Regions from separate parts of the Homo sapiens genome. Here region 2 is linked to region 1. Evidence: promoter capture Hi-C in 16 types of primary human blood cells and fetal thymus (Javierre and others, 2016). All regions are on one chromosome and are shown on one strand. Each heading gives the region's core, a stretch centred on a gene start or on the middle of the fragment in contact. The rest is flanking DNA. Distances are from core to core; before and after follow the strand shown.

The links. The method cuts DNA at HindIII sites, captures the fragments that hold promoters and counts their contacts. A CHiCAGO score of 5 or more calls a contact.
Region 2: a contact is called between a fragment that was not itself captured here and the fragment with the promoter of LTO1 in region 1, in 2 of 17 cell types (endothelial precursors and M1 macrophages). The highest score is 8.1, in endothelial precursors.

Annotation. Positions count from the first base shown.
Region 1 is chr11:69,673,732-69,677,594 of GRCh38, reverse strand. LTO1 (LTO1 maturation factor of ABCE1) reads left to right here and starts at 2,242. Exons shown (of 5, transcript NM_153451.3): 1 at 2,242-2,405. The coding sequence starts at 2,356. RefSeq lists enhancers at 1,881-2,080, 1,950-2,450 and a silencer at 2,571-2,660. The HindIII fragment of the contact is 5,284 bases long and covers 697-3,863 here.
Region 2 is chr11:69,159,580-69,163,048 of GRCh38, reverse strand. SMIM38 (small integral membrane protein 38) reads right to left here. Exons shown (of 3, transcript NM_001369201.2): 3 at 609-3,469. The region is part of intron 2 of LOC338694 (a long non-coding RNA gene); the gene reads left to right. Among named protein-coding and RNA genes, the nearest start is that of SMIM38, 5.4 kb to the right of the region's middle. The HindIII fragment of the contact is 8,605 bases long and covers 1-3,469 here.

The DNA.
Region 1 (3,863 bases), core at 993-3,492:
ATTTATTTATTTATTTATTTTTATTTTATTTTATTTTTTTTGAGATAGAGTCTCGCTCTGTCACCCAGGCTGGAGTAGAGTAGCGCGATCTCGGCTCATTGCAAGCTCCACTTCCCAGGTTCATGCCATTCTCCTGCCTCAGCCTCCCAAGTAGCTGGGACTACAGGTACACGTCACCATGCCCCACTAATTTTTTTTTTTTGTATTTTTTGGTAGAGACGGGGTTTCACCATGTTAGCCAGGATGGTCTCGATCTCCTGACCTCATGATCCGCCCGCCTCGGCCTCCCAAAGTGCTGGGATTACAGGCAAAATGTGCTTTATTCATTTATTTATTTAGAGATGGAGTTTTGCTCTTGTTGCCCAGGCTGGGGTGCAATGGTGTGATCTCGGCTCACTGCAACCTCTGTCTCCTGGGTTCTCCTGCCTCAGCCTCCCGAGTAGCTGGGCTTACAGGCATGCACCACCACGCCAGGCTAATTTTGTAGTTTTAGTACAGACGGGGTTTCTCCATGTTGGTCAGGCTGGTCTCGAACTCCCTAACTCTGGTTATCCACCTGCCTGGGCCTCCCAAAGTGCTGGGATTACAGGCGTGAGCCACCGTGCCCAGCCAATGTGCTTAATTTTTTTAAGTTAACTCTTTAACTCATCTGGAATTATTTTGATGAATGGTGTGAGGCATAAATGGAACCAAGCTTTTCCCAAACAACCAATTTTCCATTATAGTTATTAGTTAATATTTCCTTTCTCCAATTAATTTGTAATTCTTCTTTTTACCACATGAGAAGGCTTTACATCTATGAGAGTCCATTGTCTGGGCCATTTACTTTATTTCACTGGTCTGCCACTTCTTGAACCAACATACCACAATATTTATATTGACACTTTATCTTTTCATATCTGATATGAAAATCATTTTTTTCTAAAACATCTTAGTTATTTTTATTAGTTTATTCATACGGATGAAAAAGTTTAGGATTTTGACACATTTTACCAGATCTCATGGAATTTTCTTTGGTACTGCACTTGTTCAGTTCCCCAATCCTCAATCATGGTAGAGCTGTAGTTTTCCTTATATGGGTCCTGCTCAAATTGTTAGAAATTCTTATTTCTAAGAAATGTATTATGACTATCATAAGGCGATTTTCCCATCACCACCCCTGCTCAGGTTACTACCAATTATTGTTGGAATAACAGAAAGTGTTTTTTTCCCTATTCATCATACACATAGCTACTTGCTGCGATTATGGATTCTGAGAACGTCTTAGGTGACTATTTGGGTTTTCCACGTGGGCCATCATATCTGCAAATAGTAGTATTTCTGCCTTTTTTTTTTTTTTTTTTTTTTTTTGGTATTTCCACTTCTTGCTTCATGTTTTACTGCATTGGCCAGGGCTGGTAGAAAGATGTTCAGTGGTCACGTGAGGTTTTACTACTGACTTTATTAGGAATGCTTCTGGTGTTTCTCATCTGAGTTCCGTTGTCGCTTAGACTTTGAAATCCCTTTTTAAAAATCGTGTTCAGAAAGCACATCTCATGGAAATGACAAATATGAGAACTAAAACCGACAAATTTCTGCCCAAAATCCCACATGCAGAGCCTCCTGGCCTGGAGCCTCCTGAGGCGTCGGTTCTTTGATGACTTCCCATTTCTTTTCCCTTTTTTTTTTTTTTTTTGACGGAGTCTGGCTCTGTCGCCAGTCTGGAGTGCAGTGGTGCGATCTCGGCTCACTGCAACCTCCGCCTCCCAGCTTCCAGTGATTCTCCTGCCTCAGCCTCCCGAGTAGCTGGGATTACAGGCGCCTGCCACCATGCCCGGCTAATTTTTGTATTTTCAGTAAAGACGAGGTTTCACCATGTTGGCCAGGCTGGTCTCGAACTCCCGAACTCAGGTGATCCGCGCGCCTCGGCCTCCCAAAGTGCTGGGATGACAGGCGTGAGCCACCGCGCCAGCTGATGACTTCCCATTTCTTCCTTGGTTCTTTCGGAGCCACTTTGGGAAATTCGGTTCTATCTGCAGTGGTAAAATACAGGTCGGCTCTCCACGCGCGCGGCCAATGGACGCTCCCAGCGCGGACAGACAGGCCCTTTGCTGGAGCTGGGCAGGGCGAAAGGACCCCAGGGCGGGGCTTCAGTCGAGGCCGGCCCCGCCCACCGCTGCAGCCGCGCATGCGCCATGTACAGGCTGCTTTGGGCCCTCCCGCGTGCCGTTCTTACCCGGCCTGCCCCGCGCCGCCGCTTCCGGAAGTGGGTCTCGTCTCCTCCCAAGCGGAGCATTTGTGCCTGAAGCTGCCGGGTCTGCTACGGCACCGCGGGGCTGCAGAAACCCGGGGGCCAAGGGCGGGCTGCTTGCCGCTATGGCTGGCAGTCAGGACATATTCGATGCCATCGTGATGGCGGATGAGAGGTGGGTGGTGAGGCCGGGCCCGCACCCCGCCCTGTCTGGTCGTCTCCCAGCGGCTTCGCCGCCGGCTGCGGCCCAGGGCGGCTGCTGGAGCCTGGCGTCCCTTGGGCGTGCGCATTGGGGAGCGCCTGGTGGCCGTGGACGCAGGGACAAGTGTGGGCCTGATGCTCTGGTCCTCTTCTCCTGGCCCGCTCCGGCGGGGCACGTGCCCAGCTGCTCTTCCAGACCCGCCTTCCCTGTCAGGGCTGCCCCAAACATCTGCTCAGCCTGGTGGTTCCCCTCCTCCGAGGCCGCCTCGTCCTCTGGGAGGACAGACCTTTGCCATCTGGGAGCTGCCTTTTTTTCTGGTTCCTTAATCATAGGACATACGGCAGTATTCATGGATGTGCTGATAGATGTACCCGACCACACCCCTTTTCCCTCCAGAGCCCCTGGGGAGCCCCTCGTGCTGCGACAGTGGGGGAGCTGTGAGTTGCCTCCTGGCTGACTTCCAGTGCCCGGCCCAGAGGACGCGTCCATAGATGTTAGTTAAGAAAGCGGCCGAACATTTAGCAGTCAGGCGCTGACGTTTATTTAGCTCGCGCTGTGAGTCAGACACTGAGCTAAACGTTCCACCCTGGTTATCTACTTCAGCCCTACTTAGTAAGTGGATCCTATTATTCTTCGGAATTTACAGACTAGGAGGCACAGTCACTTTCCAGGGTCACACAACTATTAAGTGGGGAGCTATGCACCCTGCTTCATGGGGCGCTGCAGCCCACTCCTTGCATGTTTGGTGACTGCAGGTTAAGATAGTGGCAGTTCCACTGTTGGGCCTCAGGGTCAGTGCTACTCCGGGTACCAGTCGGAGAACATTTTGTGGTGATCTGATGCCATTTCTCTCTGTTGCCCTACCCATGTGATGTCAAACCCTGTGTATGTTGCAGTTTTTTGGAAGCGGTTGACTTGGGCTAGTGCTACTTGAACACTCACAGAACTTTGGCCCCCTAACTCTGGCTGCAAACCAGACTTATCTAGGAGACTTTGAAAAGTAGATTCCGGGCCAGATGCGGTGGCTGACGCCTGTAATCCCAGCACTTTGGGAGGCCGAGGCGGGCGGATCACGAGGTCAGGAGATCCAGACCATCCTAGCTAACATGGTGAAACCCCGTCTCTACTAAAAATACAAAAAATTAGCCGGATGTGGTGGTGGGCGCCTGTAGTCTCAGCTACTTGGGAGGCTGAGGCAGGAGAGCGTGAACCCGGGAAGCAGAGCTTGCAGTGAGCCGAGATCGCACCACTGCACTCCAGCCTGGGCGACAAAGCGAGACTCCATCTCAAGAAAAGAAAAGTGGATTGCAGGCCAGGTGCGGTGGCCCTCACTTGTAATCCCAACACTTGGAGCGGCCAAAGCTGGAGGATCGCTTGAGCCCAGGAGTTTGAGGCTATAGTGAGCTGTGATCATACCACTGCACTCCAGGC
Region 2 (3,469 bases), core at 282-2,781, 510 kb after region 1:
TGCGTTCCTGTAACACACCATGCATTCACCCGCCACCCTTTTACTGCATTATGAAGGTCCAGCACAGCACTGTCCATAACAAAAATAATATAAGCTACCTATGTGATTTTAAATTTCCTACTAGCCATATTAAGACCTATTAAAAGGAATAGGTGAATCAACCTAAATGCCCATCAATGGTAGACTGGATAAGGAAAAAGTGGTACATATACACCATGGGATACTATTCAGCCATAAAAAAGAATAAGATCATGTCCTTTGCAGGAACATGGGTGGAGCTGGAGGCCATTGTCCATAGCAAACTAACACAGGAACAGACAACCAAATACCACATGTTCTCACTTGTGAGAACACATGGTCACATAAAGGGGAACAACAAACACTGGGGCCTACTTGAGGGTGGAAGGTGGGAGGAGGGAGAGGATCAGATAAAATAATTCTTGGGTACTAAGTTTAGTACTCAGGTGACAAAGAATCTGTACACCAAACCCCCATGAGTTTACCTGTATAACAAACATGCACATGTACCACTGAATCTAAAATAAAAGTTAAAAGTTAAATAAAATATCATGGCCAATAAGTAATGAAAATAAAAGAAACAGGCGAAATCAAATTTAATATTTTATTTAACCCAATCTGTCCAAAATAGTATTATTTCAATGCGTAATCAATATAAAACCATTACTAATGAGATTTTACATTATTTTTCTGTGCCAAGTCTTCAATAGCCAGTACGCATTTTACTTACATCATATCGCAATTTGTGGTGGCATTTTTACTGTTCAATAACCACACATGCTTAGTGCAGGTCTAATATCTGTTTCCAGGTCTCTCTGCCCACTACCCTTACCTCCCTGACTGCAAGCTACCTGAGGGCAGGTGCTTTGCCTTATTCAACATTGTATCTGTGGTGCCTTGAATACTGCAAGCACTCAATGAATGCTTGCTGACTGCTTGCAGACAGGGTGGCTCAAACAGCAGACATCTATGTTCTCACAGTTTTGAAGGGTGGAGTCGGCTGGTTCTTCCTGAGTCCTCTCATCTTGGCTTGTACGTGGCCATTTTCTCCCTGTGTCCTCACCTGGCTCTGTGTGTGTGTGTGTGTCTGGGTCCTAATCTCCTCCTCTGATTAGGACACCCATCCTTTGGATTAGGGCTCACCCTAATGACCTTATTTTAACTTTATTCCCTCTGTAAAGACCATATCTTCAAACACAGTCTCTTTCTGAAGTATTAGGCATTAAAGGTTCAACATATGAATTGGGGGGAAGACATTCCAGCCCTAACACTATCCTTTTATGCCTTTTATACATCTGCTGTCCATCATCATTATTCATTTATCCATCAATTCTTCACTGTCTCCGTTCCATGGGCTACGGTTTACATCTGTGGCTACCAGCTGTGAGCAGAGGCATGTTCCCATGTGTCTCTAAGAAGGAGCATGTCTGTCTCAGCCTTGGACTTCCTTATTAAAACATTTTCTTAGGAGGCCCCAAGGAGCCATGGGGAGCCATGGAAATCTCCAACCTCTGACTCCAGATTGGAGCAGCCAAGGACAGCTTGACTCAGCTGCTATTCCTGAAGGGCAGACAACAGCAAAACCAGCACATAAGGGTACCACAAAGGTGCCCAAATATCCAAAATAGGGTCCAAGACAAAGACCATCATTACAAAGAATGGCCAAGGGGCCCGTGGCAGAGACCACCCAGTTGCCTGCCTGATCGCCATTTTGCCTCTGTTTCTTTATAACAAACTTGGCATTCAGGATGGCTAGGAGACCAGCTAACAAACGCCACTATCTCTCAGCCTCCTGTGCATCCAGGGATGCCACGTGACATCATTCTGGCTTATGAGATGGAAAACTAAGGGTATCTGGGGACATTGCTTTCTGTCTCTGTCACCCTTTCCTTTCTCTTCCTGCCTGGAACTCGTGTAAGATGCCTGCAGTAGCAGCAGGTTTCTTGTAGCCGTGAAGATCAAATCTACATGCTGAGGGTAGCAGAGCAGAAATATGTCAGGGTCTGAGACCCTGATAACTTCACAAAGCTGTCACGCCACAGCCTGGGAATGCCAAATGCCAGACTTCTTGCTACGTGAAGAAAGAAAAACAAAATACTTTTAAAGCCTCTCTTTTTTAAGCCACTGTTTGTCTACGTGTCTGTTACCTGCAGCTGAATGCATCTGCTGCCTGAGATACGGCCAGGGCACACCCTCTCATTCATTCAGATGCCATGGCCTGATTGCCTGTTCTGAGCCAGGCACTGCGTCACAAGGCTGGAGATGCTGACACGTGGATGCAGAATACATGAATTCATCAGAATTGTGTCCATTTTCCAGGAACAGAAACCAATGAAACAGACTTAAGAAAAAGAAAAGAAATTATGGACCAGTGTAACTGAGATAGGGAGTCGGAGGAGGTTGGCAGAATCTTCCCTTCCACCATTTTTCCAGGTGGCTGTGTTCTCATGGGGCCGCCTTGAGCGTCTGTCCTCCCTGCCAGGCAGTCCCAGTAGAGGAGTCTGTTCTGACCCCTGGCTCCAGCAGAAGTCCCAGGATTCTGAGGCCGGGCATGGTAGCTCATGCCTGTAACCCCAGCATTTCGGGAGGCCAAGGCAGGCAGATCACTTGAGGTCAGGAGTTCAAGACCAGCCTGGCCAATATAGTGAAACACCATCTCTACTAAAAAATACAAAAATCAGCAGGGCGTGGTGGCACACGCCTATAATCCCAGCTACTCGGGAGGCTGAGGCAGGAGAATTGCTTGAGCCCCAGAGGCGGAGGTTGCAGTGAGCCAAGATTGCGCCACTGCCCTCCAGCCTGGGTGACAGAGTGAGATTCCATCTCAAAAAAAAAAAAAAAAAAGATGATGAAGTCCCAGGATTCTGGCTCACTGGACCAAGAGGTGACCTCAGGTATGTGTGTAGGTGCCATCCTACACACCCATGTGGACACGCAGGCCACACACAGGTTTACACAAAACTCTACAACTGGCAAGACATCGGCACATCATATGAATGTCTAACTCCTTCTATCCAGCGTGACCTGGTTTGCCCAGGACTGAGGGGTTTTCCAGGACATCGAACTTTCCATTTTAAAAACAAGACAGCCCTGGGCAACCCGGAACAGCTGGCCCTCCTAGCTCTGTCGGTACATGCTCATGACAACCATGTGATTTTTCTTCCTTAAAGAGATCAATGAAATGGTACCAGATCATGTTTTTAAAAAGCGAACAATATTTTCCTTAGAGATCAATGAGAATATCCCTCCCCACAATCCTACGATCAGGCGAGAATATTCAGGCAGAGCCCTGGGCTGCCGGTGGAGGTGGCAAATTGTCCGTGACACGGGGGAGTGACCATAGAGTTCTGCTGGCCTCTGGCTGATACAACAGAGGCCAAACTGAAATGGAGCACGGTAGCCCCTGCCCCTGTGCAGACTTCAGAGCGTGAATGAGAAGGGACCCTCTGCA